Regions from separate parts of the Homo sapiens genome. Here all the other regions are linked to region 1. The links are contacts of gene promoters, found by promoter capture Hi-C in blood cells and fetal thymus (Javierre and others, 2016). All regions are on one chromosome and are shown on one strand. Each heading gives the region's core, a stretch centred on a gene start or on the middle of the fragment in contact. The rest is flanking DNA. Distances are from core to core; before and after follow the strand shown.

Region 1 (3,629 bases), core at 264-2,763:
ATATGAAAGAGTTTCTAGGCAAGGTGCATACTAGAAAACTTCAAGTGGTCTTGGATTCTGTCCTAGCCCTGGATGCACGTGCAATGAATCCCGAGGTGGGAGAGTCTGGGAACTAGGCATTCATGCCCTGTGTGCCCTCATCCGTGGATGGACTTGGAGCCCTGGAGCCACCTACCCACTCACCCATGAGCCAAGTAGTCATAACAGACCAGCAACAAGTCCCACTAAAATCTCTAGGGAGGTGTTGCCAAGGTCCACTTAGCGTGTCCTGGCTTCTCCCTGTATTTCCCTCCTCATGACTCCCTTCCCACTCCCTTCCCTCTCGGAGCCCTGAGCTGGTCAGCAACACTTACTTCTCTTTGCTGTGTTTACTGCCCCACTCGAACTTGCCAGTACTCCCAGTATCGCAGCCCAGCTCTGATTTGTGAAGAAAGATCCCCAGACGTGTCTTGAACTCTTTGGCTCTGAAAAACAAATCAGGAACATGAAAGCATTCTCTCATTTGCTCAGCCAGTGTGGAGAGGTTTATGGGTCCCAGAAGAGCTCTGGGTGGTGCCACCCAAACTTTAGCCTCAAGAGTTCCTGGAAACTCTTGGCTGTCCCCAGGCCAAGAGTGCTTCTCTTATCAGCATCATCAACCCCAAAGCAACAAAAGCAATGTTTGAGCTATGCTGTGGTAGGTCTTACACTTTCTGGGTAATACACACGCTGCATATATGGGCTTTTCCCTAAAGTCACACTGATCTCTCTTCGTGCCTGTTGATTCAGAAAAGAACTCAGCATTCTTTTCAGAAGTATTTCTGAACTGTGTGGGAAACTGATTCCTGCCTTCATCTTTACTTTTTCCTTCCCAGCCAGTAAGGATTGGAAGCTGTTGAGTAGCTCTCTGGAATATGGACACACCCTCAACAGTGGGAGCCCCCACCCCCACACACCCCACCAAAAAAAAAAAAATCTCCCTGTCTTCCAGGGGCAGAGGAGGCAATGCCCCTAGCTCTGGTCTGAGGAATGAAAAACAAATGCTTAAGAAATGGGCAGGCTCAGTGCTGCCTGGAAATGTCAACGTGGCCTTCCCGCAGCCGGGTCTTCAGCAGGTCACCTGAGCACGACTGCAGTTTGTCAGAGGATGGGGATGGCAGCAAGCCGCGGGCCCTTGCTTCCCTTCCCCTTGCTTTCTCCCTGCTCCTGGAATCTGAGCACGTGGCATCAAGTGCGCTTCTACCTCTCTACTCAAGCCTCTAGCGCCCCATCCCCGCGCCCACCCAGGTCCCCAGGCCTGCCGCTCCACTCCCTAAGAGTTGGTGGGACTTCCCCCAAGCAGTTGGACAACCTCCCCTTACCTCTCCAGGCAGGTGGTGGGGAAGGCGGCCAGGGTGCGGCACATGGCTGCGGGCGCAGGGCAGCACGTAGTAGGCAGGATGGTGGCAGGCTCCAGGAGGCTCCGCGTGCGCCAGGAAGCAAAGGCGCGGTAGCAGGTGCTAGTCAACTGCGGTTGGGTTTAGCAGCCTGCAAGCGCCCAGACTGAGCGGCCGCTGCTTTAAATCCCCTCGGAGGAGCGGGGCGGGGCTGGGCACTGCTGACCAATCGGAGGGTGGGGCTGGGCGCTGAGAAGGCGGAGGCGGGGCCCGCAGCCAGACTGGGCCGGGTGCAACTTTCGCGGCAGCTGGAGCACGCGGAGCTGCACCCTCCGCCCAGAGGACGCCGCGTGTGGAAGGAAAAGCGGCAAGAGAATTGGCACGGGGATGAGACGTGCACACCCAGTTTCCTAGGGAAAAGTACCTGCCGACCTCTAGTAACAGCAGGAAAGTCACGCAGCGGTGTCGTGTTGAGAGAGTTTGCACGGGGGTGGTGGGTCTGGGAGGCACACAGGGCTTTCTTTGATCGCAGGCAAGTCTGAGCCTGCTGGGTCCTGAGGACAGGCGCACAGGGTGCAAACCTGGGCAAAACAGCATCTGATTATACTGATAAGTACCCTTTACGAGGCTCTTACCATGATGGACACGGGGCTAAGTAAGCTCTTCATCATCATCTCCATTTTATAGATGAAGAAATCGAGAATCAGAAAGCTAAATAAACTTGTCCAAGATCACAGTTGGAGATGACAGAAAAGTGGAATAGGGATGAGTAGTTTATTGAACACCTACTATGTGCTAGGCACATAAGTAAGACTTGCTCAAAGTCTTAGTTATTAAATAACTTGCTCAAAGATGTGCAGCTAGTAAGTGTTGGCTCCAAAATTCAAATGTGAATTTGCCATTCTTTTTCCATTGCACACACACACACACACACACACACACACACCACACACACACACAAAGGTTAGTACCCGGTCACGGCTATACCTGTGGACGATCCTGGGTTTAAGCAGTTAATACCTTATTGTCTCCATCTCTGACATAAAGGTAATAAATGCCCTTCCTCTCACCTCATCTTCCCATAAAGGCATTGGGATTGCTATTAAGAGGCTGTATGTGAGGTTAAAAGTACAGGGTCTAGAGTTAGATTTTCAGGTTTCAAGTCATGGCTCTGCCAGGTGACCTGCTGAAGACCCAGCTGCAGGAAGGCCACGTTCACTGTTAACTGGCTACTGATGGGAGACGAGGCAAACTGCTTAACCTTTCTATGCCTCCATTTCCTTGTCTCTACGAAGAGAACAACTTATTTCATAAGGTGGTTGTGAGAACTAAATAAATTAATTCTTAGTTTGAGTTCCTAGGAACTAGACTCGGGTAGACACTTGCATGCAGGAGGTTTACTGGGGAGAGTTATCAGAATTAAGAGGGAGTAAAGAAAGCAGGTCTGGGCAGAGGGAGGAGTTGAAGGCCATGCCATTTCAACAGAGACCCCAGCTGGTTCCAAGGAATGCCCGGAAGCTCAGCTGGCCCTTTGGAACTGTCCACTGAAGCAAGAGGACAAGGCCCTGGTAACCCCATAAAGACCATTCATTGCATACAGCTGCCCAAGAAGACAGCCTAATCTTAAGGCAGTGCCCTTTGTCAAGAGCAATTCCTGGAGAGAGACTAACACCCTGGGAAATGATGATCACAGTCCCCAAGACGGGATCTGGGTGGCACCGCACAGCATCCGTGACAACATATAAGGTGCTTATATGACAGTGCTCAACATGTAGTCAGCAGTCAATAAATGTTATAATAGCTTTCAGTTTTACTTAATAGGGATACTGGGATTGCTAGCAATAAGGAAAATTAGTGAGTCTTTTGTGCCTCTTGGAATACAGTATAGGCAGTGTATACTGAGGCACTCTTAGTTAAGTACACCTGAGGCACTCTTAGTTAAGTGTACTGGAACAGGAAATAGCTGGAAATTGGATCCTATCTCCCAATTCCTGAGCTAGTACTTTCTCCTGCTCTGATAAAGAAAGCAAAATAAACGGTGCCAGGAGCAGTGGCTCACGCCTGTAATCCCAGAACTTTGGGAGGCTGAGGCGGGCAGATCACCTGAGGTCAGGAGTTCGAGACCAGCCTGGCCAACATGGCGAAACCCAGTCGCTACTAAAAATACAAAAACATACCCAGGCATGGTGGTGGGTGCCTGTAATCCCAGCTACTTGGGAGGCTGAGGCAGGAGAATCTCTTGAACCCAGGAGGTAGAGGTTGCAGTAAGCCGAG
Region 2 (3,282 bases), core at 113-2,612, 480 kb before region 1:
GGCAGGGGGATCACAAGGTCAGGAGTTCGAGACCAGCCTGGCCAACAGGGTGAAACCTTGCCTCTTCTAAAAATACAAAAAAATAGCCGATGTGGTGGCATGCGCCTGTAATCCCAGCTACTCGGTGGGCTGAGGCAGAAGAATCGCTTCAACCTGGGAGGAGGAGGTTGCAGTGAGCGGAGATCGTGCCACTGCACTGCAGCCTGGGTGACTGAACAAGACTCTGTCAAAAAAAAAAAAAAAAAAAAGATGAGGGTCCAGAGATTCCAGTCTAATGCCTCACTCCTGGGTCGATCTCACCAAATAGCAAAGGGTTTCCTGTTCACCCTTTCCATACTGGAACAAGTGAGAGGTGGAGGATGGTGAATCATTTTCCAAAGCCAGAATTGGCCCTCTTGGAATCTTTGTGCATTTCTGATGGAATGTAGGAAAATTAAGGGAAATCGGGAGGCTCCAGGGATTTAGCATGGTTCGGGCCACAGCACAAGGTCCCATAGGCTCTGAAAGACTAAGCTATAGCTCCAATACAGGCGTTATCTGACTCCAAAGTTCAGGCCTCTTCTACTTGAGATCTGAGTCCCTCACACTGGAGCATGGTCAGTTAAGGCTGCAAAAGGGAGAGAGTAATGGAGGTCAGCGTTGAATAGATACGAATATAAACTCTTGGGCACTGTTAACGCCAAACAGCCTGACATCTTACTTCAGATATAACTGTAACAGTGTCCAAAATCCAATATTAGCATTTAAAACTTGTAGCACACTTATTGTGGAGTCATTGAGTGATGCAGAAAGAAAAAAAAATAAAGCCCTGAGAATTCAGCTCATTTACCCAAGTCACTGACGCATTTAAGGAACAGCTCTTATAAGTCCATTTAGGTGGTTTAGGGCTGCGGAAGATGCCCAGAATCCCTAAATAGAAATAAGTACTGGTCATCAGAGCAGTGCGGTTAGGCCCTTTCTGGCCAGGAGGTCATCTTGGGCTCCAGAGCCACTTGTTCAGCTCTGATATCTAAACAGCCAAAGTGAATTATTCACTTAGGAGGGTGAAAAACACTCAACTCCCTGGGATTGTCAAATGGAGTTTTCCATCATAAAATATCTTAGTCATTTGGAATCTAACCAAAGTAAACGCCTGGTCCTGACCCATCCATACCTCTGTGCTGGATGGGAAAGGAGAGAGGGAAATCCCAAAACAAATGGAAAAGCCACTTTGCCAGCCACAGAGCATGCATGGCCCTCCCTGGGCAGGTCTACTCCAGGTGAGACACGGTTTGAGCCAGGCTACAGGTGAGGAGCGGGTCACGGGAGGGCTCTAAATGGCATCTCTGTTTGATTCCAGGCCTGAGTGGGGCTGCGGCTTACATAACAGTTTGGCAGGGAGATGCAGCCAGGCGGAAGCACGCGGGTTTCCAGCAGCGTATAATCATCTTTGATTTCTCTGTTTGCTCAGCAGCTTTCATGTGGTGGGGGAGGCAGTAGTGCAGGAGGAGGGGCAGAATTCCGATACACTGCGGCCTTCTGTTTTCTTCTGCAAAACAAACAGCCCCAAACAGATCCCCATGGCCAGGGAATTAGCCACTGCCACAGAAGTCCCGTGGCAGTCTAGGGGAGGAGCTGCCCTGGAGCCTGGGTCAGGCCTAAGAAGGTCAGAGATTGACTTAAAGTTACGGTCTCGCTAGGTGCACAGGAGCCCAAAGGGCTACCGAGGAGCAGGGGTCTTGGATGCTGGCAGCACCTAACATGGTTTACCCTCTTGGCACTGAGGGCTGTGGTGTCCCCTTCTGATTACAGAGGTTACTGAATCCCATACTACGTCCATCCAGAAAGGCAGCTTGTCAGGTCTCTTTCCTACTAATCACTGCCTCCATACCAGGCTAATTCTGCTGGAATCCTGAGCATCTGGGAGCAACCAATTTAGAAAATAACATTTCCTTTGACTAAAATACAAATTTCTAGCTCCTTTTGATCCTAATCGGTTTGGAATTGAGTAGCAGCTGTTCCCCTTTAGAATGGGCTCATACTCACCACTTGCTGCGGTCTGCACTATTCCCTATTGTCTTACACCAGGAGATCTTTTCATTTAGTTACCCTGCTTGCCTGGCCCTTGCAGACATTTGTAAGATGAATTCCCTGCCCTATCCTAAGTATAATGATTTGATAGAATATAATTTGCTTACCTCTCTGATTCTCCCACTAGACTGTAAACTCTTTTGACAGAAGCACAAATTGGTCATTCATTTATTCATTCAACAATTATCTACGGCATGCCCACTTTGGACAGAGTGCTAAGTGCTAGTCATTGTGTTAGGAATATAGAATTTATCATGGGGGCCTTTAGTGCCTGGCACTTAGCACATGCCGTATACATGTGATTAGATTAAATGAATACATAAATAATTCTTCCAGCATGCAAACTGTTGATCTTGGCAGTGAGGTTCTGTTACCAATGTGTCCACCCTCTCAACCTTATGAATAGGTTTATTGACAGGATACATCTTGTTTTGCAAGTGATTTGCATGAACTTGTATAATGTTGTGCTCAGATATTTCCTTACATTCAGATATTTTCTAACCCCCAGCTTGCATCTCTGGCCTCATGTTTTGCTACTCCCTGCCCTATCAGCCATGAGGAACTGCTTGTATGACCTCCCTGAACTCACTCTGCTCCTGGGGCCTCCACGCCCTTGCTCACCCTCTCCCCTTAGTCTGGAAAGCCTTCATTTTGTCCTTTGCCTCATTACCACCCCTTCCCTGGCCAGCTCCCAGCCACCTCATAACCCTCACTCAGACATCTTCTTCCCAGGAGCCTCCTCTGATTCCTCCAGGCTGAGTTAGGAGCTTCTACTCTTTGCTCTCATTTGCGGTGTGGCTCTTTTACAAGTCTGTCTCCACCACCATGCTGCAAGCCCTGGAGGCAGGAACTGGACATTTTTTGTTATCTCTGTGTTTTCAAGGCCAATCATAGAATAGGAACTTTGTATATAGAAAGAACAATTCAGTCATGCTTGTGAATGAAACCCTAGCCAGGCCTGCACCTGTTTTAGCACATCAGTGCACACACACCCTCAATTTTGACACTCCCCTGCAGAGTCCAGATAACCAACCAAGGATCCAAATGGATTCTTGTTTTGGACAGAGTCTAGCTCTCTGTTGACATATCATGTTCTTTCCTCTATTATAGTAACTACCCATGCTCTGTGTGTTTTCTCAAGTTTTCTGTGTTTGAATACATGAAATTCTTTTGCTCTTTGTATGAAAACAATGCCATCTGTTCACTAGATAG
Region 3 (3,605 bases), core at 1,106-3,605, 280 kb after region 1:
TGACTGGTATGGATTTTCAGATGTGAACTCCAAACTGAATTCTTAGAATTACAATATGATGGAATTCAGCTGCTAATCTAACTTAATTATATACTAATTATATCTAACTTAATTATATACTATATACTTAATCTTAAATTGATACCAGTAGAAGCAAATGCATTAGGAATTTGAGCCATGTCTACCACTAGGCACACCACCACTATGGAATCAGAATCTAAGTGAAGCTTGAGTACCCTTTCACATACTCTGTATATTGATTCAAAACTAGTGGTAAGCACTGGGCAAAAATGGAATAGAGCTTAATGGACAGCCAGTAGGCTCAGCCATCATATTCTTGAAAACCTAGAAAATGCCAGTATTCTGGGTCTCTTAAATTCATTATTTTAAAGTCTGGATGATCTGGCTGGGTGCGGCACATCACTTGGGCTCAGGAAGTTCAAGATCAGCCTGGACAACATGGTGAAACCTGTCTCTACGAAAAATCCAAAAAAATTAGCCCCGTGTGGTAGCGCACACCTGTAGTCCCAGCTATTCTGGAGGCTGAGGCAGGAGAATCACTTGAACCTGGGAGTTGGAGGTTGCAATGAGCTATCACGCCACTGCACTCCAGCGAGGGCAACAGAGCAAGACTCTGTCTCAAAAAAAAAGAAAGTCTGAATGATCCATATTGCTGGACTTTGTTTTTTGTTTATTATATATTGCATATATTTTTATTATATTTTATTTGGCTTGATAGACTTTTTGGCTTAAGACTCCTGCTCATAGCTAGCAGTGAATTTTAAGAAGCTAGTGCTGATTATAACTACTCTTCATATCTGTGTTTGCCTAAGTTTGGGGCCATTATAAGTAGTTTTTTTTTTTAATATTAATGCTTAAGAAGTTAAATTTATTCTATAATGTGCCATGTGTGAAGTTGAGAGATAATGGTCTTTTTCTACATATACTCCCTCTCTTATTTTTAATGTATTTCGCCACTTTAGGATTAAACTGCAAATATCTCATGAAGCTGCTGCCTGTATCACTGGTCTCCGGGCAGCCATGGAGGCTTTGGTTGTTGAAGTAACCAAACAACCTGCTATCATCAGCCAGTTGGACCCCGTAAATGAACGTATGCTGAACATGATCCGTCAGATCTCTAGACCCTCAGCTGCTGGTATCAACCTTATGATTGGCAGTACACGGTGAGTACCAATATACTTCTTACTGAACCAAGTAGAGGGGAGAGATCTTATGTAGGCCTAGAATTCCTGAAGTTAGTGATAGAAGCCCTATTACTTAAGTAAAATTCTAGATATAGATAGAGCTATATAGATAGAGAGTTTGATGTTCTGAGTTCTAACATACTCAGAACAAAGAATGTCATTTACTTTTTTGTTAGTAGTTGGTCTGCTGCATCAGTGCATGTTGGTAGTGTTAGAAGGAACTTACAAATGCACATACATAGTTCAGAGTGGGTCACATGACAGGGAAGTGACACAGCCCAGATAGCCCTTTTTCCATGGTACTGTTTTGGCATCTCTAAAGAAAAATATTGATGAGATGTTAAATTGTTTCTGTATCAAATGTATATGTGTTTTTGTTTATCTTAAACAACTAGAGCATGGATATCTTAAAGAAATGAGAAATTTATCTTAATTCTTAAAATTTTTATTTGCTTCAGGTTTTAAAATTTTTTCTTTGCCCACTAATTTTTATTTACATATACTTGATACTTACCAAAAAGGCAAGAAGAGTGATACAATGTATAGCCATATAGTCTTTATTTAGGTTCACTAATTTTCAGCATTTTGTATTTGCTTAATATTTGTGATGAAGTAGCAGGCATTACCACATTTTACATCAATACACTTCATGTCTTTTAAGAACATGGCCACAATACCACAATCACACCCCAAAACCTTAAGTGTTTTAGTAATACTATAATATACTAAGGTACTAAAATTCTTCCAGTTATCCAAAAATGACCTCTAATTCCTCATCAAAAATGATGTATTGGCATTTGATCTATCTGTAAGATGGGTAGATTGTTATCCTCATCCTCTTTAATATAAACAAGGAAACCAGGCACAGATAAGACCCAAGGTCATACAGCTAATAACTGATAGAACCAGGTTCAAACCCAGGCAACATGGCTCCTGAAACAGTGCTCTTACTATGCTATTCTGTGGCCCTCCTAGGTGGTTAAATGCATAGAATAATTCAATAACCGTCATAGGCAGATAACAAATGAAGTATTCATGGGTGTTTAGGAGAAGAGAGATTATTTTTGGTAGGAGGGCTGGTAAGCAAGGAGCCGCTGTGTATATAATCTGTTTCTATGAAGGATAACAGTCCGGAAACTAGAAAGAAAGGGATATATGCAAGAGAGTTTAGGATGTATGAATATGTGGTGGCTTAAATTACAGTAGTAGAATTGCAATGGGGAGATGTGACTGGATTAGACAGATTTGTGGTAGAATCAATAGGAATTGGTGATGGACTAAAATGGAATAGTGCAATGAAAGAAGGAAGACAGATTACAGTCATTTATTTTTATTTTTATTTTTTTTTAAATTTATTTATTTATTTATTTATTTATTTTGAGAGTCAGTTTTGCCCTGTTGTCCAGGCTGGAGTGCAGTGGTGCCATCTTGGCTCACTGCAACCTCTGCCTTCTGGGTTCAAGTGATCCTCCTGCCTCAACCCCCCGAGCAGCTGGGATTACAGGCACACACTGCCACGCCCAGCTAATTTTTGTATTTTTAGTAGAAACAGGGTTTTGCCATGTTGCCCAGGCTAGTCTCTAACTCCTGACGTCAGGTGATCCACCCACCTCAGCCTCCCAAAGTGCTGGGATTACAAACCTGAACCACTGCACCCAGCCACACAGCCATATTTCTGACTTAGCTGCTGAATTGGTGGTGTTATTCTCGAAGAAAAGCTGCACAGGAATAATAAGCAGATTGGGGATATGTTTAATTGAAGTTGTTGACAGTCCATCTTGATTTCTGCAATTTTTTATTCGCTTTATTTTCCTTATTTGCCACATGAAACAGATTTAGGCATTATTACCAAGGACATTTTTCAAAATCATATTTCAGAATTATTGCAGGAAAACATCTGGTGATAAAGACCAAATAGTTTATTGGCAGCTCCAGGAACCCTCTCCTAATGCTTGCCTTCTTGGAACACTTATGTTATTGAACTGAGTAAGAGGACTGTCTTAAAGTTCTAATGACATACTGCCAAAATTCAAAACCTTTGAGATTGAACCAGAACTTCAGAAAAACAGATGGATACAATTGATGACTGTTTTAGAATAGCAGATCAATTTTATTTCAATTTCTATTTGTGCATTTGGCTTCATTCCCTTTATTAAATTTTCAAATATAACTAAATGTGTACATTTGGTAAGTCGTTGGGAAATAATAAGAATGCTTTGCTAAAGTGATGGTTTTGTGCTTTTCCTAGGTATGGAGATGGTCCACGTCCTCCCAAGATGGCCCGATACGACAATGGAAGCGGATATAGAAGGGGAGGTTCTAGTTACAGTGGTGGAGGCTATGGCGGTGGCTATAGCAGTGGAGGCTATGGTAGCGGAGGCTATGGTGGCAGCGCCAACT
Region 4 (3,322 bases), core at 172-2,671, 500 kb before region 1:
TTTGCCCACTTTTCAATGGGATTTTTTTTTCCTTTGCTGATTTGTTTGAGTTCCTTGTGGATTCTGGATATTAGTCCTTTGTCAGATGTAGAGTTTGCCAATATTCTCTCCCATCCTATAGGTTATCTATTTACTCTGTTGATTATTTATTTTGGTGTGCAAAAGCTTTTTAGTTTAATTATGTTCCATTTATTTATTTTTGTGTTTATTTTGTTGCATTTGCTTTTGGGGTCTTAGTCATAAATTCTTTGCATAGGCCAACGTCCAGAGAGGTTTTCCTAGATATCCTTCTAGAATTTTTATGGTTTCAGGTCTTAAATTTAATTTAAGTCTTTTAATTCAGCTTGAGTTAATTTTTATATATGGTTAGAGATAGGGATCCAGTTTCCTTCTTCTGTATATGGTAATCCAGTTTTCCCAGCACCATTTATTGAACAGTGTGTGTTTTTGTCTGCCTTGTTGATCTTTGTCAAATATCAGTTGGTTGTAAGTATTTGGCTTTATTTCTAGGTTCTCTATTCCATTCCACTGGTCTATGTGTCTACTTTTATCGCAGTACCATGCTGTTTTGGTTACTATATCTTTGTAATATAATTTGAAGTTGGGTTATGTGATGCCTTCAGATTGGTTCTTTTTATCTAGGATTGCTTTGGCAATTCCAGCTCTTTTTTGATTCCATATACATTTTAGGATTGCTTTTTCTAATTATGTGAAAAATGATATTGGTAGTTTGATAGGAATTACATTAAATTTGTAGATTGCTTTGGGCAGTATGGTCATTTTCATAATATTGATTGTTTCAATTCATGGGCATGAGATGTTTTTCCATTTGTTTGTGTCATTTATGATTTCCTTCCTTCCTTTCTTTTCTTTCCTTTCTTTTACTTTCTTTTTTTTTTTTTTTTGGACATAGTTTCACTCTGTCACCCAGGCTAGAATGCAGTGATGCGATCTCGGCTGACTGCAAGCTCTGCCTCTAGGGTTCAAGCGATTCTTGTGCCTCAGCCTCCCAAGTAGCTGGGATTATAGGCATGCACCACCACACCTGGCTAATTTTTGTATTATTAGTAGAGACAGAGTTTTGCCATGTTGGCCAGGCTGGTCTTGAACTCCTGACTTCAAGTGATTCGACTGCCTTGGCCTCCCAAAGTGCTGGGATTACAGGCATGAGCCACCATGCCTGGCCATTTATGATTTCTTTCATCAGTATTTGGTAGTTATCCTTGTAGAGGTCTTTCACCTCCTTGGTTAAGTATGTTCCTAAGGTGTTTTTGTTTTTTTTGGTAACTATTGTAAGTGGGATTGAGTTCTTAATTTTATTCTCAACGTGGTCTTTAATGGTGTATATGAGTGCCACTGATTTGCATACTTTGATTTTGTAACCTGAGACTTTGCTGAATTCATCTATCAAATTGAGGAGTCTTTTGAAAGAGTCTTCAGAGTTTTCTAGGTATAAGACCATATCATTGGCAAACAGAGATAGTTTGACTTCCTTTTTCCCAATTCAGATGCTACCCCACGCCCTGCCTCGGCCTTTTTTTCTCTTGCCTGATTGCTCTGGCTAGGACTTCCTACCTTGTCCATCTTTCCTATGTACAGGTGAGGTCCTTGTGGAGACAGGCCTTCTACAAGAGCTTTCTTCTCATGTTTTTCCACACCTTGCTTCCCTTCACCAGACTTCTGCAACAGAAATGGAGGAACTGGAGGTTATCTTGGCCAGTAAATTCTCTGGCCCAGTTGGAGTCTACCAATATGCCCTGTTGCCCTTCTGTTTATAGACTCCATGTGGTGAGGGACACAGCCTCTCTGGTTTTCCGGTCCAACTCCTGCAGCTGGCACAGCACAGGCATACTGTAGGTCTTCAATAACTATATGCTGAATTAATTAATACGTAATCTAGTCTTCAGAGAGTCCCACTTCTACCAAACCAGCAGAATGTCTCTTGCCTAATTCCACAGGTCTAAAAACATGGGGTGCAGATGTCCTCTCCTGAATCCCTTCCCCTGTCTTCTACCTCCTTCCCAGTCCATAAGGAATTCTAGTCTAATCCCCCTTCCAGAGCAAATCTCTGCTAAAGGTGGAATTTCCTTTGAGGTCACAAGGAAAAATTTCAATATCAGCTGAAAATAAGCCCCCAATGTCCTTTGTGCTTTCAATTTTTGGCCTTTTGGACTTGTTGATCATTTTTAGGCACAGAAATCTATTATTTCATCTCTTTCCAAGTTGGTAATTTTCAGGTGAATTGGTTGTATGTTTCAGGGAATGGGGGAAACCTGGGCAGAGATCATTTTAAAGTAGTCTTTGGCACTTCCTTGATTTTCAAATGTCTTTGATTTCTCAGCTGATAGAATTGAAGTCTTCTCCCCAAGTATCATTAGGCTTTACCCCAGCTCCCAACATGTCAAGTGGCTGTGGGAAGGAGCTGAGGCATGAGGGCAGGCGCAGACATCCTGCCTAGTGGACACAGGCTGGAGCATGCCTGTCCCAGGGATCCCTGCAGCCCACAGCCCGCTGTGCCTGTCACCCAACCTCACCTAACCACATTCTTTCTGCATCGCAGTCGCCTGCAAGACAATACCTTCACTGCTGGCCTCTTGCTTCTCTGACCCACAAAGAATGTCTGGCTCGATAAACATTCACCCAGTGATTATAGGATTAACTGCAACCTGTAGCAAAGGGAAGCTTTTAAACAAAGGTTTTGCTTTGTTGCTTTGGAAGGGAAAATTAAAAATATAAAGCCAACAAGCATATTATGTGTTAATGGGTACTTTAGGTTTTGAGTTCCAGAATTCAGTTATCAGTGAGAATTTCCTCTTGCAAAGAGGTAATCGAGTTCAGGCTGTTGTGCTCCTATCTCTCCTTCTCTCCACAGGCTCCACTTTTAATTGCAGTTTCCATGACAGTGAGATTGTTGCAAGAAAGCGAGAAAGATTGTGCGTGTACTAGGAAAATGTTTATGAAAATTCACATGTTTCTTTTTTTCTTTTTTCTTTGCTAGAAAGAAAGAAGGAAAGGTGGAATGCTAGAAAGAAAGAAGAGAAGTGATTTTATGTTCTTGAGTATTTATTATGTGCCAGGCACGAAGCTAGGTGTTTAACATATATATGGCGTTAAATGTGTGTGTGTGTATAAAACTTTTTTTATTGTGAACTATATAACTTATCTACCAAAGAGTACACAAAACAAAAAATGTCCAGCTCAGTGATTTATCACAAAGCAAACACCCAGGTAAAATCAAGAACTAGACATTGCCGGAATCCCAGAAGTGGCCCTTTTGATGCCTTTCAATTATTACCTCCTCCTTTCCCTTCAAAGGAAAAAA

What was found. The method cuts DNA at HindIII sites, captures the fragments that hold promoters and counts their contacts. A CHiCAGO score of 5 or more calls a contact.
Region 2: a fragment that was not itself captured here is called in contact with the fragment with the promoter of RGS16 in region 1 in 2 of 17 cell types (M1 macrophages and M2 macrophages); the score reaches 6.3 in M1 macrophages.
Region 3: a fragment that was not itself captured here is called in contact with the fragment with the promoter of RGS16 in region 1 in 2 of 17 cell types (naive CD8 T cells and activated CD4 T cells); the score reaches 6.5 in naive CD8 T cells.
Region 4: a contact is called between a fragment that was not itself captured here and the fragment with the promoter of RGS16 in region 1, in 4 of 17 cell types (M0 macrophages, M1 macrophages, erythroblasts and 1 more). The highest score is 8.4, in M0 macrophages.

Annotation. Positions count from the first base shown.
Region 1 is chr1:182,602,876-182,606,504 of GRCh38, forward strand. It overlaps RGS16 (regulator of G protein signaling 16), which reads right to left and starts at 1,514. Exons shown (of 5, transcript NM_002928.4): 1 at 1,341-1,514; 2 at 354-464. The coding sequence starts at 1,384. RefSeq lists enhancers at 1,079-1,138, 1,229-1,278, 1,749-1,828. The HindIII fragment of the contact is 22,726 bases long and covers 1-3,629 here.
Region 2 is chr1:182,119,528-182,122,809 of GRCh38, forward strand. No RefSeq gene overlaps it. Among named protein-coding and RNA genes, the nearest start is that of ZNF648, 59 kb to the left of the region's middle. RefSeq lists an enhancer at 1,367-1,661 and a silencer at 1,367-1,661. The HindIII fragment of the contact is 3,862 bases long and covers 1-3,282 here.
Region 3 is chr1:182,883,630-182,887,234 of GRCh38, forward strand. DHX9 (DExH-box helicase 9) reads left to right here. Exons shown (of 28, transcript NM_001357.5): 26 at 1-6; 27 at 984-1,184; 28 at 3,454-3,605. Among named protein-coding and RNA genes, the nearest start is that of DHX9-AS1, 46 kb to the left of the region's middle. The HindIII fragment of the contact is 4,260 bases long and covers 226-3,605 here.
Region 4 is chr1:182,099,024-182,102,345 of GRCh38, forward strand. No RefSeq gene overlaps it. Among named protein-coding and RNA genes, the nearest start is that of ZNF648, 39 kb to the left of the region's middle. RefSeq lists an enhancer at 1,923-2,693 and a silencer at 2,391-2,685. The HindIII fragment of the contact is 2,517 bases long and covers 164-2,680 here.